Linked DNA regions of Homo sapiens: regions 2, 3, 4, 5 and 6 are each linked to region 1. Evidence: promoter capture Hi-C in 16 types of primary human blood cells and fetal thymus (Javierre and others, 2016). All regions are on one chromosome and are shown on one strand. The core of a region is centred on a gene start or on the middle of the fragment in contact, and the rest is flanking DNA. Distances in the headings are between cores, read along the strand shown. Region 1 holds the start of HNRNPK (heterogeneous nuclear ribonucleoprotein K). Region 2 holds the start of CARNMT1 (carnosine N-methyltransferase 1). Region 3 holds the start of RFK (riboflavin kinase). Region 4 holds the start of GNAQ (G protein subunit alpha q). Region 5 has its middle 4.4 kb from the start of PSAT1. Region 6 overlaps SECISBP2 (SECIS binding protein 2).

The links. The method cuts DNA at HindIII sites, captures the fragments that hold promoters and counts their contacts. A CHiCAGO score of 5 or more calls a contact.
Region 2: a fragment that was not itself captured here is called in contact with the fragment with the promoter of HNRNPK in region 1 in 2 of 17 cell types (activated CD4 T cells and naive CD4 T cells); the score reaches 9.2 in activated CD4 T cells.
Region 3: a contact is called between the fragment with the promoter of RFK here and the fragment with the promoter of HNRNPK in region 1, in 1 of 17 cell types (non-activated CD4 T cells). The highest score is 8.2, in non-activated CD4 T cells.
Region 4: the fragment with the promoter of GNAQ here is called in contact with the fragment with the promoter of HNRNPK in region 1 in 1 of 17 cell types (fetal thymus); the score reaches 8.0 in fetal thymus.
Region 5: a fragment that was not itself captured here is called in contact with the fragment with the promoter of HNRNPK in region 1 in 3 of 17 cell types (activated CD4 T cells, naive CD8 T cells and total CD4 T cells); the score reaches 8.6 in activated CD4 T cells.
Region 6: a contact is called between a fragment that was not itself captured here and the fragment with the promoter of HNRNPK in region 1, in 1 of 17 cell types (total CD4 T cells). The highest score is 5.7, in total CD4 T cells.

The regions. Positions count from the first base shown.
Region 1 is chr9:83,978,379-83,983,420 of GRCh38, forward strand. HNRNPK (heterogeneous nuclear ribonucleoprotein K) reads right to left here and starts at 1,837. Exons shown (of 17, transcript NM_031263.4): 1 at 1,775-1,837; 2 at 1-74. RMI1 (RecQ mediated genome instability 1) reads left to right here and starts at 2,427. Exons shown (of 3, transcript NM_001358291.2): 1 at 2,427-2,513. RefSeq lists enhancers at 1,111-1,270, 2,091-2,140, 2,100-2,607, 2,181-2,240, 2,371-2,440 and 2 more and silencers at 1,811-1,950, 2,761-2,840. The HindIII fragment of the contact is 2,357 bases long and covers 784-3,140 here.
Region 2 is chr9:75,023,278-75,028,319 of GRCh38, forward strand. CARNMT1 (carnosine N-methyltransferase 1) reads right to left here and starts at 5,016. Exons shown (of 8, transcript NM_152420.3): 1 at 4,735-5,016. The coding sequence starts at 4,964. RefSeq lists enhancers at 805-854, 3,848-3,897 and a silencer at 4,548-5,042. The HindIII fragment of the contact is 836 bases long and covers 2,634-3,469 here.
Region 3 is chr9:76,392,222-76,397,263 of GRCh38, forward strand. RFK (riboflavin kinase) reads right to left here and starts at 2,205. Exons shown (of 4, transcript NM_018339.6): 1 at 1,869-2,205; 2 at 197-348. The coding sequence starts at 1,950. It also overlaps a transcript of GCNT1 not described here. RefSeq lists enhancers at 1,476-2,289, 2,152-2,446, 2,624-2,863 and silencers at 1,654-2,143, 2,184-2,263, 2,284-2,343. The HindIII fragment of the contact is 5,359 bases long and covers 1,288-5,042 here.
Region 4 is chr9:78,029,508-78,034,549 of GRCh38, forward strand. GNAQ (G protein subunit alpha q) reads right to left here and starts at 2,304. Exons shown (of 7, transcript NM_002072.5): 1 at 1,593-2,304. The coding sequence starts at 1,728. RefSeq lists an enhancer at 1,493-2,387. The HindIII fragment of the contact is 11,535 bases long and covers 1-4,250 here.
Region 5 is chr9:78,290,199-78,295,240 of GRCh38, forward strand. No RefSeq gene overlaps it. Among named protein-coding and RNA genes, the nearest start is that of PSAT1, 4.4 kb to the right of the region's middle. The HindIII fragment of the contact is 3,581 bases long and covers 112-3,692 here.
Region 6 is chr9:89,321,814-89,326,855 of GRCh38, forward strand. It overlaps SECISBP2 (SECIS binding protein 2), which reads left to right. Exons shown (of 17, transcript NM_024077.5): 3 at 3,614-3,863; 4 at 4,084-4,225. Among named protein-coding and RNA genes, the nearest start is that of SECISBP2, 5.8 kb to the left of the region's middle. The HindIII fragment of the contact is 1,161 bases long and covers 2,398-3,558 here.

The DNA of each region.
Region 1 (5,042 bases), core at 587-3,086:
TTATATATCCTTGCAGAGCAGAACTGAAGCGTTCTGGGTCGGACCAACAACTGACACCCCAGTGCTGCAGTAGCCTATAAGAACCAACACAAATCAGTTTTGCTTTTGTTTATTCTTATTACTGAATATTTGTTTCCGATCACAGTGAATACTGATTTGAACCCAAAAAACCAGCTGTTTCTAAAACTTGATTCTTCATTTTAGGGTTTCACAATTCAAATGACTGCCTAAAAAATACAAAATTCAAGGGAGCCTGGTTTCATTTTTTGCTAAGTTAGAACAATAACTTTTAGCCACTGGATTAAGTCCCACCACAGCAATGAATTGTTTTATACGGCACATTCCCAAAACCCTGAAAAGATAAATGTCATCCACAAAGCATACATTTATGAAAAGTTACAATGCATCTTATTCACTGGGAAAACTAATTTTATATTAAAACTTCCAATTGCTTTCCTATTTCTTTCGACTCATGCTTGAAGCGATCTTATGTGACATCTCTAAAGTTTACAAATACAACGGCAATTGCGAACACATCCAACAACCAGAACAATCTACCGGAGGGATAAATCCAAAAATCTAATATAGGACCAGACCCAAACTACCACAATACCAGTCTATTATTAATCAGCGAAACAAATGGAGCCCTTGAAAACTAACAGTCACTAGCGGATTATTTTAAATTAGGCTTAAGGGAGTACAACACAACAATCATGCCTGTAACACGAAAACTAAAGTGTCTACGTGCCAAAACGGTCGATAGGACTACAAACAGCCTTTTTAAGCTTCCCTCTTGTCGGGACTAGGAGTTGACAAGCGGCCTCTACTAGAAGGTTGGCTAGACAGCAAAGAGCCAACAAGCGAGGCACATTTATGCCTCCCATTCTCCCATACCGTTGGTCGACTTATTGCTCTCCTAACGACAACTGAAACGACATCCTTCCGGCCCAGCACGCAATTTCTGAGGTGTGGTGGGAGAAGAGTTGGATAAGAAAGTTTAAGCAAAAACAGCAGGGCTTATCTGTAAGAATAACGTTGCCGCTTGCCGTTCACCCTTCGGGTCCTGCAGTCACTAGTCCCCAGGCCTCAAAAATCCGCTAAGTATGTGCTCCACTGGCCGAGCGCCAACGCGCCCTCCCCTCCCCGCCTCCCGGCACCGAGATCAAAAACAGCCGGGTAACAGGACGGGAAAAAGCGAAAGTCGACAGCAGAAGCACCGCACCTCTCCTCACCCGGATCCGACAGGAAATGGCGGCCCGCGTAATGGCGACTACGTGCTACTAGGCGGAGCCGAGCGCCGACCCCCTCCCCCACCCACCACGCGGTCCCGAGGTCTCATCCCCCGCATCCTCCCCCCACTGCCCGAGACAAAGCCATCGAGGCAGCCCTGACCGTTCCATCCCCGCCGCTCCAGCTCCGACCCCGGGCCGGGAGACCCAAGGTGAGGCGGGGCTCACACAAAGAGAGCGGCGGCGCGACCTTCTCCCCGCACCGGCCTCCTTTCCTCCACGAGGTCCCTAGTTCCCAGTGCCACATAGCTCCAGCTCATCCTAGAGGCACATGCCTCACGAATCCCCAAGTCTCTAGGACCACAACGCGGACTGCGGATACACGCTCAGGGAAATGGCGGAGGTGGGGGAGGGGACACCGGGCAACGTTCCCACTCGGAGAAGCGGCCAAACACCAAAGCGGCTCCCAGGACGCCTCCCTCAAGCGGAAAAACTGGGCTCCGACCCTCACCTCCACGAGCCGCTCCCCCAACCCGGCTCCTCACCGCGCGAGACTGCCGTCCCTCCGCTGCCGCGCCGCCTCAGCCGGTCGGAGCTAGACAGAAAACGAGCGCAGGCTCCCCTCCCCCGCCTTCTCGCGTCCTCCCCGCCGTCGCGCCCTATTGGCTGCCAGGGCTTCAGCGATGGTGCGAGGGCGAAGCGATTGGCCCGAGGCCACGTCAATCAAGGCGACGGAGGAGGCGACAACCCCGCCTCCCGCCAGCGCCTCCCTTCGGGCTGGGAGGCCACTAAGGGCTCGAGAAAACCCGGGCTTGGGAAAAGTAAACGCAGCCTTTCAGGGAGCCCCAACCCTTACCCGAATCAGCAATACCCAAGCTCCAATAACTCCAATTACCTATAGGCCGCGAACAAGTGGGACACAGGCAAGACGTCGAGGTCGGTGCAGCAGAGAAACAGAGGATAATGGCGTCTGCAGTGCTGTCGCCTGGAGCGCCCTCCTCCTTTCTCGTTCGCGCACTCACTAGCTGGGGGGAGGGGCGGCTAGGGGGCGAACCTCTCGCGAGATCTAACAACTGCCTAGTTCACGCGCACAGGGAGGGGGCGGGGAAGGGGCGTTTTCCAGCCCCGAAGGAGTCCTTTGGGGTTGGAGGAGGGGCGCGAGCGCGCGGCAAATCGGGCGGGAAGAGGTAAAAAAGGAACTGGGAGCGCGCCGCGGCGGTTCCTGTCCTTACAGTTGCGCTGCCCAGGGACCGATGTTGCGCGAGGAAAATGCGGGACGCCCAGGTCGGTGCTCGGCCCAGACTTATGCCCGTGTTTTCACAGCCCACACTCGTGCCCGAAGCCCCTTACCCCGCCCCGGGCTGTGGTCTGTGGGCTGTGGGACGAGCTGCGGCGCGGTAAGTGCGGGCCGTCTGCGTCCGCTGGGCCGGGCCCACGCTTCGGAAACCCGTTGTTTGTAATGGTCCGGGGCGCCCGTCAGTCAAGGCCGGGCCCGGGGGCGCAGCTGGCGGTTCTCGGCCTGCCTTGCGCCGGGGCGGGAGCCGGGGAAACGCGGGGCGAGCCTGGGAGTACTGGAGAACTTCTCGCCGAGAGGGCACAGGCGGTTTCACAGGGCTCTCGGTTCTGAGACTTTCCTCTTGGGTAATGGGACCTGAGATGGAAGTATTTTGTAGTGTCGTCGCTGTAGTTTATTCCGATAAAATTTTTAGGCAATATGTATTGCCCTTGTCTCCTAAAATGAATGCGTATCGCTGAATACGTTGCAGACCTCCACGTTCCATTCAAAGCGCCTGCCTTGTGGCAGTGATGAAAACAGACAAAAACCCTTGCCCTCAAACGTGCTCCTGTTCTAGCGGGTTCAGCGCACACTTGCATTGTATTCGGTTCCTTACTTTTAAGGCTCCTGTGCCAAGCTTTCATGACTTCCTTTGTTAAGGCACATAAGGTCACTTTCAATCGGTGACAGCCCTGGGAAATCTCCAGCCCTGGTAGTACCCGCTTTCCACATCCTTACTCGTCAACCTTCCAGCCTCCGCCCACAATCCCAAACTCATTTTGAAGCATAAAGGTGTCATAATCTGCACATAAAGCGAAATCCACCATTGGCCGAATACATGCATATATTTTAGTGTTGATGAATTTGTGCTGATTCATTCCTGTTATAATGTTTCCTTCTTGGGTAATTTGCAAAACATATATACCAGCATTCTTTTAAATGGCCATGATTGCATCCACCCAGCATCTTTTACTTGACTGATTAGAGGAAAACTCTTGTTAGGGCGCACTGAGGATTTCATGACAAACACCAGTATTTACATTCTGGGAGGATACGTTAACACATGCTGTTAGAACATAATGTCCGGGATTGTGGAATTTATAAAAGTTCTCTTTAAGTGATAATATAATTTTTTAAATGGTCCCCACCATGAAGAGTGTATAGTCTTGTTGGGTAGGTAAAACTTAACTCGCATTTCAGTTCTAAAACACAAAGTTCAGAATTTTATTAAATATTCAAAACTGATGAGTTTATGTAGGGGCTTAGGATACTTGGATTATAGAGATTTAATCCGCCAGTTAGTATTTGCAACATTTAATTGAGTTTGTCATTTAAAACCTGAGACATGTCACTGACACTAATATGCACAAATAGCGGTACGGTAATGATGATGCTGTGCTTTCTTTCAAATTAGGATTTATGTTGCAGTCATCATTTTCTTGATAAGGAATGATGAGTGGGAATCACAAGTAAGCAGCCCTATATAAGAACCTCTTCCGGCCGGGCACGGTGGCTCACGCCTGTAATCCCAGCACTTTGGGAGGCCGAGGCGGGCGGACCACAAGGTCAGGAGATCGAGACCATCCTGGCTAACATTGTGAAACCCCGTCTCTACTAAAAAGACAAAAAAAAAAATTAGCCGGGTGTGGTTGCAGGAGCCTGTAGTCCCAGCTACTCAGGAGGCCGAGGCAGGAGAATGGCGTGAACCCGGAAGGCTGATCTTGCAGTGAGCCGAGATCGCGCCACTGCACTCCAGCCTGGGCGACAGAGCGAGACCCTGTCTCAAAAACAAAAACAAAAACAAAAAAAAAAACCTCTTCCTCCCAGTTTCATTGTCCAGACTGGACCCCGACTGGTGTAAATTATTCATCCCCTCTAGATGCCATTGTGGGATGGTTGCTATTTTTCCCCCCATTTGATTTCTTCTTTACGTCTTTTTAATTTTTAGGTTTGCTCTTTAAATAACAGGAAAGTCTTTTTTCTCCATCCTTTTATTCTCTGTTTGAAATTAAGACTTTTCAACCCAATAATTTTATACCTGTGTTCATTCAAGAACTTAACAATACATTCATTGACTCCAGTCTTGTGTAATTGGTACAATGGTGTAATGGTGTAGTGATCACTTTGGACTCAGTGAATTTAGACCCAATATTACTTAGATGGGGGATTTACTTTAGATGGGCTAATATAATTGAGAATGTACACTATCCAGCTGCATTATTGTTTAAAATAGTATTTATAACTACTATTTCCTGAGTTCCCCACTGTGTGCTAAACGTTGTGCTGGCAGTTTAATACTTTTTAGAGTTCTTTGAGCAAGTTGTTAGTTATCTTTGTTTTGTGAACGAATGAACTAGCACTAAGAGAAGCTAAGGAACATATCCAAGGTCACATAGCAAAATGGGGTTCCAGATTCTCTTTCTGTCTTTTCCTTACTTTAGGTTATGGAGGATCCATAAAAATCTCCTCTGATTACTTCTTCTAATTTCAGTCATATACGGTATAAATTTTTCCTCCCTAATTTTCGGAGTATCTTC
Region 2 (5,042 bases), core at 1,802-4,301, 9.0 Mb before region 1:
GAAGAATTATTCTAAAACACAAGTGTCATCTTGGTCATTATTCAATATCTCCGTATTTCAGCATATGTAAAAAGCAATAAATGTTCAGTTATATTCCCACGGGTGCCACTTTTGGTTTTCCATGGAGACTACTTATCACCAAGTAATATCAAGGTTGCAAGGGTGAGTTGAGATAAGTTATAGATTGGTTACAAGAGCTGTCAATTTTTGATACAGAAGTAACTACACAGAGCAGGATGAGATCCTTAAACCCCTGGTTACTTAATGGTGTGCAAAGCTGCCATAACATACATCCACCAGTGACTCTTAAAATAGGTGGGATCTTACTAAAGTTGAGAATATAGTCCAATCCTTATTATACCCTTATAACTGGGGCTAACTTCACTATCCTGCACATGCTTACGCTATCAGAATTGCTTTAAGGCAGGGGCCCATTGGCTACCTGGTTTTTGTACAGTCTTATTGGTACAAAGCCACACTATTTGATTACACAAAGCCTAAGGCTCCTTCCATTCAAGGGCAGAGTTGATGAGTTGTAACAAGAGACCACTTGGCCTTCAGAGCTTAAAATATTTACTGCCTGGCCCTTTTAAGAAACTCTGCCAAACCTGCTTTGAAGGAGTATTTTACAAAAATCAGACTCTCCTTGGTTCTGAACTAAGTCAGCATCAGGAGGTGACATCCTCTTGCTGATAAGAGGAGAAAGTAAACTTAGTAGCCATTTTTCCCCAATGGTGGTATCTCTACCTCTAACTCTCTCTAGAAACCTGGTGTCAGCAGTGACCTCAACTCTGATTTAGTCACCTGTCATCAGGGTGAGCCCACACCAGGTCTGATCTAAAGGCCATGGTCACAGGCCCATTCCTCTGCACCTAGTTGAACTACTCTAGGAAATCCAAATAGAAAAAACATAACTTGTCAGAAACAAAGCCTGGCCTGTCTTGATTCATTTTAAATCTTTATTAAATACCTAACATTAAATTTGTGTTACTAGTATAACTCCTCATTAATGCACAGTAAAATTTTAGGTAACGATTTTGGATTTTAGGTCAGATTCTACCACAACTGGATTGTGTAACCCTGAGCAAGTTGCTTACCGCTTTGTGTCTATCCACATCCTCACCTGTAAAAATCAGTTCTAAATCTCAATATTAAAAAATCTCACCCCGTTATTTCTAAAAGTAAGAAGTTTCTGAAAAGACTTTCAGCTTTTCAACTCTAGTGTTTTCTATGTGCTGAGGTGCTTCATTCGTAACAAGACTGGGTTATAAAACTAACATTTTTGCTATTCAATACAAATGAGCTATATCCATTTTTACCTTAATGAGAATGTCATCTAAGCAAAATCTGTGGGAATCACAAAATTGAAACCCATTAGAAAGAGAAAATATTAATCAAAAGACATTCCTTGCTTTATGACCTTTTATCTAAATCTCCTACGTATTAACTAAAAGACATTTTGCAGTAAAATTGAACCCTGCAAAATCTGGACGTACAGCTGACCCTTGAACAATACTTGGGTTGGGGCACCAACCCCCTGTGCAGTCGAAAACCCACACCTAACTTTGATTCACCAAAAACTTAACTACTAATAGCCTACTACTGACCGAAAGCCGTACCAATAACATAAACAACTGACAGATATGTTGTATGTTAATATATTACGTACTATATTCTTACAATAAAGCTAAGAAAATATTAAGAAAGTCGTAGGAAAGGGAAAATACATTTACACTACTGCACTGCATTTATCAATACTATAAGTTTACATAATTTGATTACAAGATGAATCCTCTGTCTGAAATGGGGTTGGGGGGCAACCTCCAACTGCAGACCTCTATCTACAGTACATATCAAACAAATCAACTTTTTCTTGTAATGTCTTTTTTCTCTGCTTCTTGGGAGCACCTGCAGCATCACCAGTGGCACGTCATATGGGACCCATGGTGTTATTTAAGGTTTATGGTATTGCATTAAATTTGATGAAATCTGTTTACTGCTATATGCAATTTACTTGACAGACAAAAGCAGAGTGATTATTTTAAGAAGATACTGGTAACATCTGAGCTTACTGCAAAAGCAACAGGAAGTGGCTACAAAATTATTACAGTAGTACAGTATCTACTACAGATAATTTTATGCAACTAAGATTTAATGCTACATCTTTGCTTGTTTACATTTATCTCAATTGCAAATAGCTCCATGTAAGATCTGTGTTTGTGTAAGTTTTGATAAATTTTAACTTTTTATAATAGATTTGTGTATATTTTATGGTAGTAAATGATAAACTAGTATCTACACATATGCATTCATGGCATAATTTTTTCTTAATTTTTTCACTATTTCTAGGCTATGCAAGTTTGCTAAGTTTTTCAAATTGTTGCAAATGTCAAAACAATTTTCCAATATGTTTATTTCAAAAAATTTGTGTATAAGTGGACCCGTGCAGTTCAGATCCATATTGTTTAAGGGTCAACTGTACTTGCTAAATGTGTAGAACCGGATTGTCCATCACAACCTACTTCGATAATGGAAAAGCTTTTATTTGCACTGTCCAGTACAGCAGACTCTAGCCACATGTAGCTATTGAGCACCTGAAATATGGGTAGTGAAACTGAGCAACTAAATTTTAAAGCTTATTAAATACTAATTAATTTTAGCTTAAATTTATCCAGATATGATTAGTGGCTACAGTTTAAGTCTAGAAGATCACAAAATATTAGAATGTAACAATCCACTGTTCTCTGCTACATAAACTTTCTGTACCCCTAGGCTTTAAGTGACATTTTAAAAAGCATATTTTTGATGTTATACTATTTTCAGCCCAAGTATTTGAAGTGTTTCAAGAGAGTATATACAAATAAAAACTGTTTTTTTTAAAAAATGAAATGTCCTGAATCCAACATTACGCTGGTAAAGAAGAGAGTATAGGAAATAGTATCACAACCACTAGAATATTCACACAAGATCTCTTCTCTATATTGCCACACTTCAGTTCCTGATCAACCCCTACCCCAACAAAGTCCCATCCCATACTTACCCATAAATATCAATTTTAAATTGGTCCTAATATATTAAAAGTAAGTACAACTACGCACTTAACTAAATGGGTCCACCATATTCCCAAGACATTTCCCAATATTCTTTCTAGATTTTTCAAGAGCAAAATGTACCAGACTTTTCTGTATCTCCCACTCTTAGCTATCTGATGTTAGCTGCCTTTCCTAACTTTATGGTTCTTTCCGTCACAATTCCTGCATCAAATTCAATTCTCTGATGGTCTGACGCCTTGCTCCCTCTGTTACTACTAAACCTGGAGAAATAAAATATCCAAACTTCTCTTTTGGGCTCCGTAAAGTAATGCTGTCCCTGGTCCCTATTTCTGGGTTTAATCAGTAAATTATTTCATCAAGATCTTCGAAGTTCAAAAGTTCCTATCACATATACAATCAGATTCCAAATAACTTTAAGCTTTCACTAAGCAAGCTTCTAAATTCAGACTAGTAAACTAATTTAACTATCAGTCAAAAACTTGACAGACTATTTGGGAATGAGAAATGTATTTCTTTGCTACTATTTGTTTTGTTAAAAATAGAGCTTAAACAACATATGCCAAGCACTAGTGACATAAAAATAAAAAAGACTCAGCCCCTGCCCTTGAGGAGGTCACAGCAAAGCAAGAGATTTATAAAAACAACTATAATACATAAGATGAACAATATAAAAAAACTTTGCATAAAGCACAGCAGGAACCCACCTATGGGAACAGGTTTACCTGCGTAGGAGGTCATGTCTGTCTGATTCCAACTGCAGCCTCAGAACATAGTCACCGGTGGACTCATATCTCTTACGTGAATAAAAGTGTTATCTTCACCTGAAAATCCAGTTGATTTAAGTCCCTTTCAGCTCTTGGAATTATAATTTTGTGATTAAGCTACTTTAACATCTATCTAGAAGAAACGTGGAAGTTAGGGAGCTGTTTTTATGAATGAGGAGCATAAAGGTCCTACCACAGTGCCTAGCACACCAGGGAGAATTAGATACAGATTTGCAGAAAAAAAGAACGTAAAGGCAGCTCTTATTGTGACTTCTCTCATCTCTCCTAATAATTAGCAAATTTTAGAATATCCGGACCACTTCCGCCCTTAATCACCCACCAGTTAAAGACACTGAGCAGCATCATTCAATCGCTCACACAAAAGTGCAAGTGCGTTCACAGCGCCAAAGAGGGGTGGGTGGAAATCTTAAACTGCTCTTACAAGCACTGGTAACAGTTTGGGAAAATACGTCCTACAGCATCCCACGCGTAGGTGAACTTGGGCTCTCCGTGTGTTCAGTTTGGAGGACATCGACCACACACACCAATCAGCCCAGCAGTGGACGATTGTACCACCATCGTCTTCTATCTGAAATTGTTACAGCGCTTCTCTGGTCACCCCCATCGGCCTCAAAGCCAAACCTTTACGAGGACGGAGGCAGGAGAGCTAATCTGATCCTGAGGTCAGAAGACACGAGGCTGTGCAGCAGACGGCGCGGCGGACACGCGGGTGTGCAGGGCCGGGAGGGGCTGGGGTGGTGCGAGGTGACTCGGGGCCCGGAGGTCAGCTGCAGCAGCCGGGTCCCGACGCCTCGGAGGCGTGGCGGCGGGACGGCGAGCGCCCCCGTTCCGGCGGGTCCGCCGCCACCAGTGGGCGCCCCGACGGTCTGGGCCGGGGTCCGCCACGGGCTCCTTACCCGTAGTAGCGGAAGGCATTAATGATCTTCCAGAAGTGCTCACGCTCAAGCCTCTCCTCCTCCTCCTCGGTGCTGCGCGTGGCCGCCGCCGCTGCCGCCGAAACCGCCGCGGCCGAGCCCCAACGCCCGGCGGAAAACTGCACTTCCACCTCCTCGCTGCCACCGCCTCCTCCCCCGCAGCCCTCGGGCAGCCGGGAGGTGGGCGGCGGAGGGCGACGCCGTCGCTGCATCGCCGCCGCGGCCCTCGGCCTGGCTCGCTTGCGTCTCTCCGCGACCGACAGCGTGGTGGCGGCTGCTTGGCCTTCCTC
Region 3 (5,042 bases), core at 955-3,454, 7.6 Mb before region 1:
TGTCCCTCCTTATCAGAAATTACTTTAAATGTAAATGAATTAAACTCTCCAATTAAAAGACAGAGATTGCCCAAAATTCCAGTATTTGAACTACGTTGTGATTACCACTGATAAGCTATTTCTGTAACGAATACTGTAATATATTATTCTAAGTCATCATACCATTTTCGGTTACAGAGCAAAATATAATGCTTACCATAGACTTCTTCGTATTCTTGTAATATGGGTTCCATCCTATGCTCACCACCATCTTATGGACATCTCCACTTCCAACACTGGCCCAACCATAGTAAATACCAGTGGATATATCAGCTGGAAGATTATCTACCACTTGCTCAGGAAAATTAGCTAAACAACAGAAGAAAATATTTTGAGTCTTACAAATTTCGTATTAAATGCCTGTAGCCGAGTGCAGTGGCTCATGTCTGTAATTCTAGGACTTTGAGAGGCCAAGGCAGGAGGCTCATGTTGAGCTCTGGGGTTTGAGACCGGCCCGGGTAACATAGTGAGATCTTACCTCTATTAAAAAATTAGCTGGGGATGGTGGCCTGCACCTATAGTCTAAGCTACCAGAGAGGCTGAGGCAGGAGGGTCAGTTGAGCCCAGCAGATGGAGGCTGCAGTAAGCTATGATCGCACTACCACTGCACTCCAGCCTGAGTGGCAGAGCCAGATTCTGTCTCAAAATAATAATAAGAAACAAACATTTGTAAAAATCACATGCAAGGCTAATGTAAATCATTACATTCACAAGACTCCTACAACTTTGCCTGTAAGTATCAATCCCATCCTTCCATTTTCCGGCTCAGATTTCCCTCTCCTATTCATGTGAATAGGTTATGAATAAAGTACCAGGTAAGTATATAAAGCTCTCCAAAAAAATCCATACTCTTTGAGTAGGATGCAAAAAACAAGTACCAGAGTAGATGGATTTTTTCAGATCTGTTCTTTCCTAACCAGGTACTGAATCACCTGAAAAGTTTCTTTCTTTTTTTTTTTTTTTTGAGACGGTGTCTCACTCTGTCGCCCAGGCTGGAGGGCAGTGGCACGATCTCGCCTCACTGCAGCCTCCGTCTCCTGGGTTCAAGCGATTCTCCTGCCTCAGGTTCCCGAGTAGCTGGGATGACAGGCACGCGCCACCATGCCCAGCTAATTTTTGTATTTTTAGCAGAGACGGGGTTTTACCATGTTGGCCAGGCTGATCTCGAACTCCTGAGCTCAGATGATCCGCCCGCCTCGGCCTCCCAAAGTGCTGGGATTACAGGCGTGAGCCACCACGCCCGGCCAAAGCTTCTTATTTTTCAAATACACAAGCTCAAGGCTGACTTAACAAGTCAAGACGCAGCTCTGGCATGTATTTCTAAGGATGAATTACAGTCAGGTCTCGATTATTGAAATTAATGTAGACAGACCAAGAAGGTTAGCTGACTCTCATTCAACTACCTATGTTATCATTTGGACATTACATAATTACAAATTAAAAACAAAACCACCTTAGACCCGGCTTGCGAGTTCAGCCGTTCTGGCCCACGTTACGTCTCTAATGGGCAAGACAAGCGCAATGCTTGACCAACTGTACCTTGGCTGGCCAAGGAGGCGTGAACGGGGAATCCTGCGATTCATCTCGGGCTTCCGGCCCTCACCACCCCTCAACCCCGTCCCCGCGGAGCTCGGAGCCAGAAGCAGGGACAAGCTCCCTCAACCGAGCCAACGGTCCTCCGCCACAGACAAGGGGATGCGGGAGGAGGAAGGGTGTGCTCTCTGCCCGCGGTCCGGAGGCCCCACGCCCCGGTCCCAAGTCCCCGGCTGCCGTCTCTCCCCGCTCCCCACGTGACCCGGCCCGGGGGACTCTGGCCGCCCTGCTCTCACCTGTGGGGATGCCCAGCTGCTTGGAGCCGCGGCCGAAGCCCCGCACCACTTGACCCCGGCAGAAGTAAGGCAGGTGCCTCATAATGCAGTCCGCTCGGGGAATGGGCTGCGGCCCGGTCTGCGCGTCCTGCGGAGCCGCCGTCGACGCGGCGCCCAGACCCCGGACCAGCCGGGGGACAGGAGCGTGAGCTCTGCCTGCCGCGGGGGCGCACCAGTGGCCGGACGACGCCGACCACAGGCCACTGCGAATCCCTGACGCCGCCGACCCAACAAATACCGCCGGGCGCCTGAGGAGCTGCGTCTCCGCTGGAGGGCAGCGGAGACAGCCGAAGTAAGTGCCGGGTGTGAGCGGGGTGGGGGGAGGGGGCGGCCCGAAGCGCAGAGCCGGCCTCCGCGCCGCCGGCGTGCGCTCCCTTCCTCAGCCGAACGCCTCGAGCCCGCTCGGCTTCCGTAGCCCCGCCCCATCATGGCCCCGCCCCGCCGCTGCCTCGCCCGGCTCCCGCCGCAAGCTCCCGCTGCAGGCTCCCGCCCCAGGCGCCTAATGTCTGGATCCCGGGCTTCGTTTCAGCCCCTGGCGATGGGAACTAATGTGGAAACCCCGTTTTCAGCCTGAGAGCCGCGAAAGCACAATTCTCGAACAATTCTGGTTTTTTTTTCTCCTTCCTCCTGTTCATAACAATCCGGAAGCCAAAGTGAGACGCTCTTTAGCTCCTTGGCAACCGCTGGGTTGAACGTCAGGCATCGCTCGTTCCGTTCGCTCTTTAAGTATTTATTAAAGCTCCAAAATTCAGCTCAAAGATCGCCTCTTCACAGAGGCTTTTCCTGGCCGCCCTACCAGAAGCGGTCGTCCTCCAGGACCACTGACCACGTTCTGGAGTTATTAATATATTCGAATGTAAGCTCCAAGGGAGAAGTCCCTGTCTGTGACGCTGTTAACCCCAGAGACTAGTGGAAGGTTACCGACATGGGCGGTGACTGTCCCCTCCAGGCTGTCTTCTTGACAATTTCACAAGCCCGATAACAGGCCGTCCCTCTACTGCAATGCAGATAGAGGCCTTCGTACCCTCGGAACTGTAAATACGCACGCTCCTAGGGAAGTAGCTCTGGGCTCACTCACAGGATATGCAGGGTGCAAGGTTATAAGAAGGTGCATCCTCTTAACGTCTCGAAGACAAAGAAGTTTTTTATTTATTTTTTTAAATTTTTAATCAATGGAATCCAGAGAAGTTTAATTTTTTTCTTTTTTGCTCTATACATTTGTATAAAATTCTGTGCAGACCGTGTAGTCTCTTTCTACCTTACATGTATGCATCTCTGATAAGATTTACCTGATATTAAATTTATGTTCTAGGCCAGGCTTGGTGGCTCACGCCTGTATTCCCAGTAGTTTGAGAGGCCGACGCGGGAGGATTGATTGAGCCCAGGAGGTCGAGGCTGCACTGAGCTATGATAACGCCACTGCACTCCAGACTGGGCGACACAGTGAGACACCCTCACCCCTTAAAAGAACTAGAGAAGAAGAAGGAAGGGAGGGAAGGGAAAGGAAAGGGGAAGGGAAAGTGAAAGGGAAGAAAAGGGAAGGGAAGGGAGAGAAGGACCCAAAGAAGCAATTATGGTCAGTTACTTATCTATACGGAATTAAACAAAGAATAATGAGAATAACGATAATAGTAATACCGGTAGTAAGAGTAGTAATAGCAAGTTGTGAAAAGCAATTAAGTTATCTGGAGAGGCTTAAGAGTTATTTTAGCAAGGTGTGTACAGGATTCTCTCACTCTTGACTCCCGTCCTTAATAAGAGTGCTGCATTCCTTCTAATATAGGGAGGATGTCTCTCATATGGTAATTTCATCTGCTTCTAAGAAACAGAAAAGAGGTCAGAATGATTTTTTTGTATCTATTGTTTTTCAAGTGCTTTTAATTCAAAATAGTCAATATGCAAGAATGGTATATTTTTAACTTCATCAGCAGTGATACACCTAATAAGAAAAGCCTGGAGGTGAGAACTTGATAAATCATCCCTGGGTCTTACGCCACTAAGCCCTAGGTTGCAAGAAGGTATGAGAATTAAATGAGATAAAATAATTAAATGAATCATAGGAGGTAAATGAGGAGGGGTGGTTTTAAGAATAGAGAAAATGCTAAGTATTTTTCACACTGTCTCATGTAATCCTCTCATCAGCTTTGTTGGAAAGCATTAACCTAAACGTATAAAAATGGGCGGGGCATGGTGGCTTACGCCTGTAATCCCAGCACTCTGGGAGACCGAGGTGAGCGGATCTCTTGAGCTGAGGAGTTCAAGACCAGCCTGGGCAAAATAGGGAGACTTCCGTCTATCCAAAAATTTTAAAATAAAAATAAGTAAGAAAGAGAGAAAAAAGAAAGAAAAGAAAAGAAACAAGAAAAAAAAGAAGAAAGGGGAAAGAAAAGAAGAGGAGAAAATAAGAAAGAAAATTTTAAAAATCAGCCAGGGCCTGGCACAGTGGCTCATGCCTGTAATCCCAGCACTTTGGGAGGCTGAGGCCGGTGGATCACTTGAGCTCAGGAGTTGGAGACCAGCCTGGGCAACATGGTGAAACCCCGTCTCTACAAAAAATACAAAAATTAGCCGGGAGTGGTGGCGCTCACCTGTGGTCCTAGATACCCTGGAGGCCGAGGCACAAGAGTCGCTCGAACCTGGCGGCAGTTGCAGTGAGCTGGAGATCACGCCACTGCACTCCATATGGGGCAACAGAGCGAGACTCTGTCTCAGCCAGGTGGTGGTGGCTCGTGCCTATAGCCCCAGCTACTTGGGAAACTGAGGAGTGAGGATCGCCTGAGCCCCAGAATTTGAGGCAGCAGTGAGCTGTGATTGAACCACTGCACTCCAGCCTAATGACAAAGCAAGACACGGTCACTAAAAAAATAAATAGGCCGGGCGCAGTGGCTCTTGCCTGTAATCCCAGCACTTTGGGAGACCGAGGCAGGTGGATCACCTGAGGCCAGGAGTTCAATACCAGCCTGGACAACATGGCAAAACTCGGTCTCTACTAAAAATACAAAAATTAGCCAGGCATGGCAGTGAATGCCAGTAATCCCAGCTACTCGGGAGACTGGGGCGGAAGAATCGCTTGAACCCAGGAGGCGGAGGTTGCTATGAGCCGAGATTGCTCCATTGTACTCCAGCCTGAGTGAC
Region 4 (5,042 bases), core at 1,054-3,553, 5.9 Mb before region 1:
TCCTCCCTGGCTTCATTCCCCTAAGCCCAACTCTTTCATCCAGTGCTTTTGCCTTCTGCTTTTTATAAACATGTGCACATTTATCTAATTGAGTTTCAAAATGAAGACATAAAGAAAGCATGTCATGGGAATTAACTATTAGTAACTATGTGTGTGATCAGTATATTTTGTTCCTGCTTGTAAATGATCCAGTACATAAGCAGTTCATTCCCAAAGGCAATTGGTTCCTTGAGCCAGCAAATGGAATGCTCAAGATAAGAAAGAAAATGCATGCTTCTCACAAACACCAACTAACAGTACAATATTCTTTTCTTACAGAAATGTTTGAGAAACACATTTATTATACATGCAAATACCCAGAACACAAGTGCAGACATTTTTCAGGCCCGTTACTGCAAAGCTGTTTGCTCTTCCTGCCACAGTAGCTCAGGGTTCTGTCACTGTGGCTTGTATATGAACCCTGATCGCTTGATTCTGAACATCCTCCCAGAGATAATCATCAATAAATTTCTATTTGAGAAATGGCATTTTCTTGCTAACTTAGTGTTGAAGCAGAATTTTTTTTTCAAGACTAGAGGGAAATTTTTCCTGTATGCTTCCCGTTTTTCCTTCTCGCCCAGATTCCAAAGACATTAAAATGCTATCTGTTTTAAACAAAAGGTTTCTATTTGTTGCCAAGAGAGTAACTGAGAGACTGCACTGGTTTTCGGTAGTAACTATTGTGAACTGAGGCCTACATCTAGGTTGCCTCATTAAACAAAAGATACCGGTCGCTGTCAACAACCACACAGCACAACGCTCCCCTACCCTCATCTTTATCTAGAAGGAATGGTGCAGACGAGAATAACGCCTGTCACCATCCACTGGCCAACTCTTCTAGGCTCCCTCCTTTCGATGGTCTGGTGGCTAGAGAACAGCACTTGTGTGACACATTTGGGCTTGCCCTCCCGCCTCGCCCCCAGTACACAGACCCTTTCCTTGGAGGGCCAACCACTTGGCTTCCTCACCATGAGTGCTCCGGGAATCCAGCTGCGAGTCTGCCCACCGTTCCCCCATTCCCTCCTGACCCCATAGGGCACTGATAATGGATGCACACCGGCCACTCCACCGCAGGCCATCCCCCAACGTGCCCCGGCTCCGCTCGCCACCCGCTGGGCCACACACACGGCTCCCCACGCCACCACCCCATGGGGTGCCGCGGCCACGACACTGGAAGTTCAACCCCTCTGCCCACCTTTCCACCCCCGCGCCTCTGGTCGGAGTGATCTGCCATTTAGCAGATGCACAGCAGATAAGGTACAGCCCTCAGGGACACGAAAAGGAACAAGCCAAGGCACCGGGCAGGGCAGCCCCGACCCCTGTGCTGCGTGTGTGTGTCGCTGTGTGTGTGTGTGTGTGTGTGTGTGTGTGTGTCTGTGTGTAACGCGCCCGCGCGCCCGCGCGGGTGAAGGCAGTGGCCGGGGGCGCGCCCGGGAGGGTAGGGGCGAACCGCGGGCGCCGGGGGGCGGGGGCGCCGAAGGCAGCTGCCCCGCAGGGCCAAGGATGGTGGGCTGGGGGCGCAGAGGCCCGGCGGGGCCCCGGACGGTACTCACCGAGCAGCAGCAGCTTGAGCTCCCGGCGGGCGTCCCGCTTGTCCCTGCGGAGCTGCCGCTCGATCTCGTCGTTGATCCGCCGGGCTTCCTTGGCCTCCTCGCTCAGGCAGCACGCCATGATGGACTCCAGAGTCATTCTTCCAAAGTGCCTCCGCTGCAGCCCCGCCGGCACCCCCTGCTCACAGCGCGCACACACACCCTCCCGCCCTCGCTCCCCCGAGGCAGCGGTGGCCGCCGAGCCCCCGCCGCCCGGGCGCGCGTCCGGGACGAGCTCCGGGAACCGCCGCGGGGGCGGCGGCCAGGGCCGGGGCCACCAGGTGGGCCGGGGGCGCGGTGGGAGCGGATAGTCTGGGCCGACGGGAGAAGAGAGGCGGGCGCGGGAGGCGGGCGCTGGCTCGGGGGGCGCGTGAGAGAAGGCCGCCGCGCCCGGCCTCGCTCAGACGCCCGCGCCTCCTTCCCCGGGAACAGGCGGCCCGCCTCGCCCCCCGAGCCGCCGCCGCCGCCGCCGCCTGCGAGGCTCCCCTACGCCGTGCGCCTGGCGGCGAGAGCTCATTCACCGGGGTGTCCCCGCAGCGAGCGGCCGCCGACGGCTCCCCGCGCCCGGCGCGCCCGCTCCTCGCCGCCGCCTGACACGGCTCCCGGGCGCCCTCGGCCCTGTCCGCGCCCACCGCCCGGCTCGCGCGCAGACCCGGTTCCCGTCCCGCCCGGCAACCGCGCGCTCCTCCGCCTCCGCCTCCGCCCCCGCCCCCGCCAGACGCCCACCCCCTGCCCCGATTGCCAGGCGCGGAGCGGCTGCTCAGTGCGAGCCCTCCCCCTCGCCACACACACACATTTTCTTCTTTCTCTGAACTGGAGCACAGATCCGGGAGGGAGGAGGCGGCGGCGAAAGGAGGAGGAGGAAGAGGCGGAGGGGATGGGCGCGGGAGGAGGGAGCCGGGAGGCGGTGCCGCCCGGCCCCTCCTGGAAGGCTTTCCTGGGCTCGCGGCCGCCGCGGCGCGCCTCCCAGTGCGGCTCTCGCCTCGCCCGCGCGGCTCCCGGGCTGGGCCGGCCCCCGCGGGCTCTGCGGACGCCTACTGCTCCCGCACCCTCGGCAGAGTCCGCGGGCGCAGCAGTCACGGCCGCCCCCGGCCGAAGTCGGGGCCAGACCCGGCCGCCGACGCGCAGCCCGAGCCGGCGGCCGCCGTTGCGTGCCAGGGCCGCAGCCGACCTGCGGCTGCCGTCCGGCCGGGCGTGGTGAGACAGGAATATGGCGGCCTCTGCCTGCCTCAGCCCACCGGCCCGGGAGCGCGGCCGCGGCCCCTGCTGAAGTCGCGGGAGGCGGCCCCGCGGAGCCCCGCACGCGCTCCCTGCGGCGCCGGCGCTGGCGTCCGCCGCTCCCGGGCTGTGCCTGTCTGCTCCACGGGGTCGCTCCTCAGCCGTTTCTGTGTTTCCCGTTCCTATTTCTAAAACGCCATTCGGTTAGAAACTCTCACGTCACCTCTGACACCGGTGCAGTCTTAGAAAATAAGCTCCTCTATACTGTGTGGGGCTACTGGGGAAGGGAAGGGAAGGAATTGGCACCGGTGCCCAGAGGTGTAGGGGGAGATTCACAGGCGAAGCTGTTCGCAAAGTAACGTGAGATAGAAATCTAAATCCTGAACAGAGAAAGGAAGCTGCCCAAGTTTCCAAGAGCCTCCCGATAGGTTCCAACTTTTCATGCCTTTGTTTTTTTGGTGGTTGTTGGTTGTTTTTGTTTTTTTAAGTTGTTTTTGTTTTTGTTTTACAAGTTCTCTTGTTTCTGAGAAGGCACACGATGTTTAGCCGCCGAGTAATCGAATTTACTCTTCTAGACTGAGATTGAATTATGGATGACTTATGGGAAAATGTAAAATAATGTGGAATAAAAGGAAAGGAAAGAATGAAATAGAAGAGAAACTAAGGAGGCCCCAGCAAAACGGCATTCTAGTTTTTTTGATTTGCAATATGTGATTGAGGCAGTAAACTGTCGTATGCACATTTCATTGTGATCGTCTACTGATAAATAGCACACGAAAATAATCTTGTTTAATCAGGCCCAGGAGATGAAACTCATATTGCTTCCTGCCTTAAAGGAACCTGAGGTCTTCAAAGAAAATTGTCTTTTATGAAGAGAACCGCTTTTTCACGTTTCATGTGTTCTCTGAAGTGTCCCTGGTGCAACCTGCTGATCCAGAGTGTAAGGTACGGTCATGACTCTGCTTTTGCTACAGATCAAGAACTCATATAGGGTTCTTAGACAACAGGTGTGTAACTTCCTTCTTTCTTTCATTTGCCATTACTCCACCGTTTCACACACATACACACACTCTAAACCACGATTTAAATCAAGCAAGTCAAGATATAAAATATATATTTTAGGTTCTCTGTTTAAAACCTAGAAAATAATTAAATTTCACCTTGCCCTGGAGAGCAGAGAGGGCAAACCTCAACCCTTTTATGTGAATGCCTACAGAGAACAGCTAGACTTGCTATGAAATTAAAATTTAAAATCAAGTGACTAAAGAAATTAAAGATTGAAATTCAGTATGCAAAAATAGAAAGTGGCTTCAGAAGAAAAAATTTTAAGTTTGCATCCTCCGAATATATGTATGTATATGAGCTTTGGAGAGACACAGAACACTGGAAAACCAAATGACAGAAAGCTTGAAGTCTCTGGTTACCTACCCAGGGATCCTCTGAGACTTTTAAAAATGTCTTTTAAAATGAGCCATCAGGCTATCAGGTAATATGTTTTGACTGAATTGTCCTATTATTTGATGAATTCATCTGTTTCAGCGGGCTATAGAGTCAGAGTCTGTTTTGTCCCCCCTGTATCCCCCCAACATCATGAACACTCCCTGGCAACTTAGATACTTAAATGGATGCAATGAATCAATAGGAGAATGTTTCAAGTATTGGGGAGAAACCAGGAAGTAAGAAAAACCAACACTCTACAGTGATAAAGCCATATATGGGTGTCAAGAAGGAAACAGGAAAAGAAATTCCAAGTCTGAGCCCAGATCTATCCAAAAACCTTTTCATATTATCTGGAGAGCGTTTGCCAAGCAAATATTCCTAGAGACTAAGTCAAACAAATAGAACCCATGCAGAAACAACTGATAGTTGACCATGTTCTACAAGCACATACTCTAAAACATGCAACTAAACAGGGATTATGTTACAAAATCCCAGTTCATTCAGTCAACAAGCATTTATTCATTGCCTACTATGTGTAAATAACAGGTGAAGGTACAGGATAAGAGAGATACTAAAATGAATAAAATACAGTCCTTACCCTCCATAGGCTTATAGTCTTATAATGAGGCTCTAAGCAGCTATAATACAAGACTAAAATCAATTTGTATAAAATTTGGGGTGGAAGTAACAACATAAAGGTATAAAAAGGAAGGGGAGAACTGGAAAAGATACGGCAGGAAAAGGGGCATTGACATG
Region 5 (5,042 bases), core at 652-3,151, 5.7 Mb before region 1:
TCTGCCCCCATGATCCAATCACCTCCCACCAGGCCCCTCGCCCAATATTGGGAATTACAAATCAGCATGAGATTTAAGTGGGGACATAGAGCCAAACCATATCATTTGGTAAGCTTCCACATGCAGCTTCACTCAGCATTGAAGAAACTGAGCTAGAATCCTAATTGCATGGCGACATGTTAGGACTCGATGAGGCCTTCAGCCTTGGCAGAAATGACTTGTGGGAGGATGGGCCTGAAGAACCACAGGCTCTCAAAGGGTGCAGAGTGGCGTCCTAGGATCTTCAGGGGTTTTTGGTGGTCTTATGCCTATCCTCACCTCACTCTTTTAGAATTATCAACCCAGCAACAGACTGTTAGCATTTTCATTAATTTCCTTCTTCCTGCCCTGTACATTCACTCAAGAAATATTTATCAAGCACCTAATATGCTTGATGCTGGGGATACAGCAGTGAAAAAGGCAGGTGCAGTCTCAGCTTCTCTGGGAAGTTATGGTCTAGTGTGGAAATGGACAACAAACAAGTACTATTGCAGAGGCTGGTGAGTTTCCAGAGAAACAAGCAAGGGCTGAGCCAAGAGATGACCAAGAACCAGGCTAAGTATGGTCTTGTGGGCCCATTAGGAGTCTGATTGTTGTTCTAAATGTAACGGGAAGCTGTTAGAGGACTTTGAGCAGAGGAGCTACATGATCTACCTTACGTATGTTTTCAAAAGTTCACTGTGGTTGCAGTTTGGAGATTGGATTCTAAGTCAGTGATGTCAATGCAAGGAGTCCAGGCCCAGGAGTCTAGAAGAGATCATGGGAGCTTGGACGAGGCAGGCAGCATGGAGATAGAAGTCGATAGAGCACAGAAAAATTGTGAAGCAGAACAGATTGAATTTGAGAATGAGGAAAGATGAAACCTCCTTTGAAACTCTGCTGAAAGGGGTGCAGGATAATTAATAATAATAAGCAGTTTTCTGTCTCTAGGGGTGAAGACATCAACTTTGGAACAGACCTCTCCTTGTTTTAGCAGAATTATCACAATAGGTATAGTATATGTAACCTCATTCTTTCATTCAACAAATCTTCACTGTATTCAGTACAGTAACATGCTGTATAGGCTTAGGCTGTATCATATAGCCTAGGTGTGTGCAGGCTGTGCCATCTAGGTTTGTGTAAGCACACTCTATGATGTTCACACAACGATGAAATCGCCCAAGGATGCATTTCTCAAAACATATCCCTGTTGTTAAGCGATGCGTGACGGTACTTGTTGAATGAATGAATCTGAACACATCTGTTGATGTTCTGGTTTGGGACTATAATTTGTTGTCTAAGTTTGAGTAGAATTTGTGACTCCAAGGAGGTGGGCTTAAAAAAATTGTTTTTGGAGATAGTTAATTGTTGTGCTGATGAGAAGCAGCTTTTTCTTTCATTTTGATATTTCATATGAGGCGTATTCTTACGTCATTAAAAAGTCTTCACACACACCCTGCTTGGATATGCCTCAGATGCACACACCACAACATGCTGAGCCAGTCTTCCCTCCCCTCCAGCTCCCTCCCCTCAAGCCAGCTGCTCCCCTTGCCCCTGCCCAGTTCGTTTTGATGGTTACAGAAATGCCTCTCACCCCCAGCAGCTTTGAATTCTTGTTATTTTTAATTAATCTTTGCTGCCTTTCTATACAAGACATAAGCCAAACAATACAATTAAATGACAGTCCCTGCTTATCTCTGAGGCAGTGTGCGTGGTTCTTTGGAGCTGGCACTCAGTTTGAAGCATGAGAAAAAGAAGAGGAAAAAGCAAGACTTTTCACATCCTGAACTGGCTTCTGCTCCCGTCATCCCTGAATTTTCTCTCTCTGTGCTTTGCCTTAGTATTTCCTCTGGCCTCATAAAGAAAAGGAAAGAACAAAACAACCCACAGATTATTAACTCTACAAAAGTCGTTCTCAAACAGCCTGGATGGTTGTCTGAAATAGGCATGTGTTGACTTTGCACAGGTGGTGAAACGAGTGGTCTGTGGCTAGTTTTCAGGCTTCCATGTGGAACCCTTCTGTGAGGCAGCCCTCATGAAGAGTGCTGATCCCAAAAATGCACACGCGTATGAGCAGAGCCAGCGGGGCTGGGAGTGGAAAATACCAGTGTGTAAACACGTTAGAGATGGTGCCAGGAGTTGTGCCCCTTTCTCTAAAAAAAAAAAAAAAAAAAAGTTAAATAAATTCTGATGCTTTTTCCACTTTGAAATCTTTTAAGGATGTAAGAGGTAGAAGCAGTGTGCATCCCCTGTGTAATTCTGCCCACTAGTCCACAGAGAGCGTGCCTCTTAAATAACCTCTTTAGGGATTTCACTTGTGCGGAGCTTAAAGATCTTTTAAACATCTATACTAATCTTTAAAAATAAAGCAAAATGAGGCCAGGTGCAATGGCTCATGCCTGTAATCCCAGGACTTTGTTGGACCAAGGTGGGAGGATCACTTGAGGGCAGGAATTCGAGACCATCCTGGGCAACATAGCGAGACCCCTATCTCTACAAAAAAAAAATGAAGCACAATGGGTATACCTTGAAGACATTATGCTAAGTGAAATAAACCAGTCACACAAAAGGGCAAATTCTTATGATTCCACTTACAGGTGGTACTTAGAGTGGTCAAATTCATACAGACAGGAAGTAGAAGGGTAGTTGCTGGAGCTGGGGAGTGGCGGGAGTTATAGTTCAATGTGTACAGAGTTTCAGTGTGGGAAGATGAAAAGGTTCTGGTGGTGGATGGTGGTGACGATTGCACAAAAATATGACTGTACTTACTGCCACTTAACTGTACACTTGAAAATGGTAAATTTTATGTTATGCATATTTTGTCAATAAAAAAATGAAGCAAAGTAGGCAAGGAAATAAACTGAGGTAAAGAGAGTAGGATGGATATCTTTTCCTATCTGTTGGGGTCAGAATAAAGAAAGTAATAGGACTTTGACTTTTGGTTTCTTTTTGCTACATAAACTATGATTACTGCCTCTCTCCCACTTTTTAAAATTGTTGTTTGTTTTTGAGACAGGGTCTCACTCTGTCACCCAGGCTGGAGTCCAGTGGCGCAATCTTGGCTTATTGCAACCTCCGCCTCCCGGGATCAATCATTCTGTATGACTCCGCATACAAGAGGTACTTAGAGTGGTCGGATTCATAGAGACAGGAAGTAGAATGGTGGTTGCTGGAGCTGGGGGCAGCAATTCTCCTCCCTCAGCCTCCTGAGTAGCTGGGACTACGGGTGCGGGACACCATGCAAGGCTAATTTTTAATTTTTTTTTTTTTTTTTTTTAGTAGAGACGGGGTTTCACCATGTTGGCCAGACTGGTCTCAAACTTCGGACCTCAAGTGATCCGCCTGCCTAGGCTTCCCAAAGTGCTGGGATTATAGGCGTCAGCCACTGGGCCCAGCTTCCCTTCCTCACGTTCTCTGGGAATAATGATAAGGGAAAAGGATCTTTAGCTCCAACTACAAAAAGGGCAGCAGAAATAATCTTGTCTCATTCCAAATAGATTTTCTCCCCTGCTCATGTTGCCTACTTCTCTTCTCACTGCTCTCTAAACAGGATGGCTGGGTCTGATTGGCAATCGCAGCAGAGCCCAGCATCTTTCACATATAGAAGTACTCAATGAATAATACTTGTGAAAATTGAATTTCTGCCTTTTTACGAAATATGTATTTCATAAAGAAGCTTCTTTGTACTTGCTAAATGAGAATCTACTAAGAGGGAAGGATCCCTCCCACATGCAGGGGTTCCTCTGGACTGTCTTTTTTTTTTTTTTTTTTTTTGAGATGGAGTCTCACTCTGTCTCCCAGGCTAGAGTGCAGTGGCGCGATCTTGGCTCACTGCAAGCTCCGCCTCCCGGGTTCATGCCATTCTCCTGCCTCAGCCTCCCAAGTAGCTGGGACTACAGGCGCCCGCCACCATGCCCAGCTAATTTTTTGTATTTTTAGTAGAGACAGGGTTTCACCGTGTTAGCCAGGATGGTCTCGATCTCCTGACCTCATGATCTGCCTGCTTCCGCCTCCCAAAGTGCTAGGATTACAGGCGTGAGCCACCGTGCCCGGCCTGGACTGTCTTTATAGATCAGTGCAAAATAGGCAAGAAGGACAAAATAATATTTTGAGATTAAATTATGTTTCCTCCTTTGCTGCTGCTTTATTCAAGCACTTAGCTGAGGGTGTTCCTTGTTGAACTGGAGGAAATTTGGGGGCAGAACACTATAAACAGTCCTTCAGAGAGCTTGTTACCTGTAGGCTCAATAAGGCCTCAGATAAGCTGGAGTTTGCCCCTCAAAATATTGATCTGTACAGTGTTTTGCTGAAATTTACATTTGTAGATGTTTAAAAATGAGATGTCACATAAAAATCTGGGTTCCTGGGTTTTCTTTCAAAACGTGAAGACAGCTCAAGCAACTTCATTTGCCTGCTTGGCAACAACCAGCTGGATCTGAACTTCAGCTGTTGCATTTAGGATGGCATAATAATCAGGATAATGTGAGCTGCTGTAACAAATCGCCTCTCATATTTCAGTGACATAGCACAAAAGAAGCTGATTTCTCACTTACATATGACAAGTCTGGTGCAGGTGATTCAGGGACCTGGGGCTCCCTCTTTGCTGTGTCTCCACTGTCCTTAGGGGCCAGGGAGTTTTTTGTTTTCAGCCTGTGGAATGGGAAAAAGGAAGTGGAGAAGCACACCCATTTCTCAACCACCCTGGCCTGAAAGTGACACACATCCACTTGGCCCACATTCCACTGGGGGGACCCAGTCATGTGGCTCACCTAGATGCAAAGGGAGCTGGGAAACATGAAGCCGGTTTGAGCAGCCACTTCCTGCCATCAACCCTATCCCATGGATGGGGGAATCATAAATGTGCAGTGGCCGCGTGCACCTGTGCCACAAATGGACAGGTGAACTCAATTTGCCACAGTTCCCACTACTTGTTTCATATCCCTGAGTGGCCCCTGGAGGCATTTGAGTTTGTGGCTCTGGTTTAAGGTGTTTGTGGGCACAGTGTGAGGAAGAAACATGGAAAA
Region 6 (5,042 bases), core at 1,728-4,227, 5.3 Mb after region 1:
GGATGAAATAATGAGACTTCACATGGTTGAGAATTGATTATCTGAGCAGTTCTAATATAGATTAAAAATTGCATTGCCATAGTCAGATTACATGTAAATGGAGATCTCTTGCTGCTGTGACAAAAGGAATAGAAGTTTCTGAAACAACTATTTCCTCCTTCTTACTTGTTCAACTACATAGCATCCTAAGTCAACTTTGTATGTCCCCTTCCCTCATCTTTCCTTAAAGAAGGTATAGTAACCTTTTACAGAATTTGTCCTCCTCCAGTACCTTTCACAGTGCACTCAAAGATGCTCATTTATTCATTTGGAATTAATTATTGAAAGTCTTCCATAGTTTTGAAGTGATGGAGATGAAAATGAACATACCAGACTCTTCCATATTTATGTTATAGGACAAGACAAAGAAATTAGAAGTAGTCTGATAGATAACATTTGCCATGTTTGGAAAATACTGATTATTTACTGATGTAATGAACAAATTTGCCTATGCAAACAAAATAAGTTTCTTCCAAGTAATGTCCATTGTCATGTTACATCCTTTGTGAAAAATCCTGTGCAACCTGTGTATGAGGATGTGTGCCTTTTGTTTGGGTATTATTGTATACTTCCACTTCTTTCATAGTTACTACAATCCATGAGGTGGCAGGCAGATGTAATGTTATTTTGCACATGGGAAACTGAAGCTAGGAATGTTTGTTCATGCTAATTCAAATAGGTAGCACCAGAACCAGAATTAACGTGCTATTCTTCAAAATTGCTGCTGCTATTGACAAGAGGTAGTTGAGCATTTTCACCATCTGCCAATATACTGTGAAAATTTTAGTACCAATTGATGCTTTTGAGTTAAAGCAGATCAGCTATGAGAAGAACTAGTGGTATACAACATTGTACAGCTGAGCACGTGGCTCGGTGGGTGGAGGAGAAACTGCATCCCCTTTGGGTCGTTGCCTGACTGAAGGGACCATGTGCATGATATGTTTGGGAGATAGTAGAGGAATAAAGTGATAATTTTGGGGGGAAGCTGTCAGTAGATTGGAAGCCTGCATAGTACAGCTGAAAAGTTTTAGGTTTGCTGGGTAGGCAATAGGGAACTTTTGGTAGTGTCTTAAATGGGGTCATTGTAATCACTCCTAAATTTTGGAAAGATTTTTAAAGAAGAGGGTCTTGAAGGCTTTGACCAGGTTCTAGGCACTGGAAATAGTAAAGAAACTACATGAGAGAACTGTTGAAATAAAAAAGAGCCCCATGATTGTCCGTACAGGTTTTGGTGGGAAAGATGTTACAAAAATATTCGGTTGAATACATGGAAATAATTGTAGGATCATACATGAGAACAGAAGTTGTAAATGGGGCTGTTTTGGGGAATGGATGTTAAATTTGGGATTTATACGTGCTGAATTGGGAAAAAGTGAAATAGTAAGTGGAAATGACCTGAAAGTTGGAGATGGAGGCCTGGACTAGGGAAGGTGCTGGATTGTTTATATTTATGTCAAGTCCTAAGCAGAAAGATAAGAGGTTCTGACCCAGAATGTGTCAGATGGGTGAGATAAGGAGGGTGTAGAGGAGACTGCACTAGGGAAAGAGACAGAGATAGAGCCTTGGAGGGCAGGTGAGAGCCAGGCGAGCAAAGTCCAGGCCAGGGAGCTTTTCAAGTCATGTGATGGTCAAGCCAGACCCAACGGGTGCCTGGAGGGAGAGGCAAGAAGGAGGTCCTGGGAGACCTGGAAGCCGTTGGTGGGAAAGGGGCAAAGGGAAGTGGAGCCAGGAGACCAGCAGGTATTGCACAATTACTCAGACAGTTTGATTTTAGTATGGATGGGGTAGCTTAGGACAGTGAATGAGAAACAGGTGTGTTACTGTGGGTTTAGGGTCATCTGGGCCACTCCTGGCATCTGGAATTTCCCAGACATGCCATTTGAAGCCACGCCAGATGCTGTGAGTTACTGCTTTGATGTTTTGTATTTTGTGTTGTTTTCTGCATGTAATTGTGTTTGCACTGGATGGAAATGGAAAATACCAACTTTCCAGAGGAGGAAGGACCAGTGAGGGGACAGAAACCCAAATGACTTACCCAGAATAGAAAACTGGATTGTGATTGAGCTAGGACCCCAACCAAGGTCTCCTGACTCCTGGATGAAAATTTCCTGGATGACAGCAGCCGTCAAAACCAATGGAACCTGTCCCTGCTTTCCTTTTTAGCTACATTTCATTTGTCTGTTCATTTATCTATTTATTGGACTTGGGACAGTCTTTTTCACATTTTTTTTTCTGTCAACTCATCTTTTATGAAGAACAGATTATCCACCTTCAGTGACACTTGCCCCCCACTAGCTTTTCTCAACTACAAACAAAATACAGCACAGAATTCACAGGAACATGTAGGCAGTGGGATGAAGCTTTGAGCCTCTTTTCTACAAAGAGCTAGTCCTCAGTGCTGTATGTTTGGAGCAGTGCTAGGCCAGTTGTTTTGTTGGACAGACAAAGGTCAGTAAAAAGGGGTTTATTTGATTTTTAATTAGGAATATTTCATGTTAAAGTTACTTACCTGTAAGTAAAAGATCTTAGAAAATCTAAGTTAACATATCATGAAATAGTAAACAGTGAGATGAGAGAATATATGATTAAGTACTGGATAGAAGTGAAAGCAGTAAACGTTATTATATTATAGGTAGAGCCTGTAGTCTCCCTTTCTTATTCAGTGTAGTCTGTTACTTGCAGCGCATTAGAAATATGATTTCTAGTAAGCGGTGCTTATGCTCATATCTCCTGACAGCGTAGCAGTTTGAAGGTCTTAAAGGGTGTGTCATGACTAGGTTTGGATTTTTTGCCTTTCAGTGTACTAGTACATTTTGGAATAGCTCCGGAAATTAACAGAAACATTTGCTGGAAGGAGGAGGTTACTATTTGTATTTTAAATCAGTTGCTTAGCATTTTGTCATTGTATCAGCTTTCATGGGAAAAAGGTTGAAACCTGTAGCCTTGTATCAAATTGGCTAAAAAAGAAAAATTAGTGTTAAATTATATTTTGGTTTAGTCTAGCAGCTTGGGATAAATTGAGGCAATAGCAACCTTCAAAGCTGGTGTCCATCTGTTAGTAAAGTGTGTAGTTAACATCCACGGTGCCGTGCGGTGTCTGCTTTGCGCTCTGACCCTGTTAGTCAGCAAAGCGCAGGATGTCATGGTGGGCTTGGAGCAGGGAAGGGCTGGAGAAAACCATTTGCAGGAGCCTTGGTGGAGGCATTGCAGGCTGTTGGGTCTCCCCGCAGCAGAGAGAATGGTCTTTAGGGGCATTTTGGCCAGGGTTGCTGGGAGAGGCTTTCCCAAATACTTGGTAGCAATTGGGTGAAAAGCTGCTGGAGCATCTTCTGGCTCTGTTGATGTTTCTTACGGACTTCCAGCTCATTAGTGAAAAAATAGAGTCAACATCTTTCTTTGCAGGGTGAGAAAGAAACACCCAGAGATTTTATTTGGCTTTTAATTAGGGATTATTCCAGTGCTAGAGTGAATGGTCTCAGAAATATTAAATGTTCAGTTTGAATTAGTTTATTACAGAAAAGCTTCTTGGTTTGCAGTATGAAATCTGCAACTAAAGTTTACACTTTTTACTTAGGCAGAAAATATATACTGAAGACATGGCCTTTGGAGCTTCAACTTTTCCACCTCAGTATTTATCTTCTGAGATAACTCTTCATCCATATGCCTATTCTCCTTATACCCTTGACTCCACACAGAATGTTTACTCAGTGCCTGGCTCCCAGTATCTTTATAACCAACCCAGTTGTTACCGAGGTTTTCAAACAGTGAAGCATCGAAATGAGAACACATGCCCTCTCCCACAAGAAATGAAAGCTCTGTTTAAGGTGAGTAGTGATGTTGTTTTGTTGTGTCCTTTAGTTGGTTGCTTTAATGTTTAAAATGTAAAGAAATGGTAAATTTGTACATCATATTTAAGTATCATGTATTTTTTTGTATTTAACCTTTTAAAAAATGATTGAATTGTGAATACTTAATATTTTGCTGCTTTAAACCTTTTTTATAGTGGTGGTTTTATTTCATGTTGCTTTTTAATCTTTCCTGCAGAAGAAAACCTATGATGAGAAAAAAACGTATGATCAGCAAAAGTTTGACAGTGAAAGGGCTGATGGAACTATATCATCTGAGATAAAATCAGCTAGAGGTTCACATCATTTGTCCATTTACGCTGAGAATAGTTTGAAATCAGGTAAAAATAACCAACAATGTAGTATAATGCGAGCCTACTCCTTGTGCCCCAGAAACATTCCTGCTATGTATACAGCTGTTTCTATGGGCTTGTTCATTGTGACTACTCCAAGAAATGAGACCTGGGTCTGACACAGCTTAGGGCGTCAGACTTCCTGAGCAATTCTAGAGGTATTTCTTCCCAGGGATGGGATTATTATTTGGTACCTGTTGCATTGTGGGATCTTAAGTGCCTATAATTTGTATTATTTGGTATATACATTTTTCTCTTTTCATTGACTTCACTCATAAACCATCTGGTACAAGGGACGTTTATTAACTGTAGTAACTGTGGTCTTATAATTAAATGAGTGGCTTCATGTAGCTGCAGCCTACCTTATCCATTGCATTTCAGGAGAAAGATGGGGAAGAGGTTATGCGTTTTATGCTACCTGCTTCCCTCTAGTTTATTCCAGCAAACTGAAAGATGGAAAGTTTACTAGCACAGAAAATTCATTAGAGTCCCTTTAAATTTGCAATACAATAAAATGTCTAAAAAGAATAATTAAAATGCCCAGCTGCACAATCAGGTTAAGGTAACTATTTCATCAGCCTTAGAATTATAGTCATGCCTCACTTACTGATGGGGACACATTCTGAGAAATGTGCCCTTAGGTGATTTCGTCATTGTGGGAACATTTAGAGTGTACTTACACAGACCTAGATGGTATAGCCAACCACCTAGCTAGGCTATATGATATAGCCTGTTGTTCCTAGGTTATAAACCTTTAGACCATATTATTGTACTGAATATTGTAGGCAGTTGTAACATAGTGGTA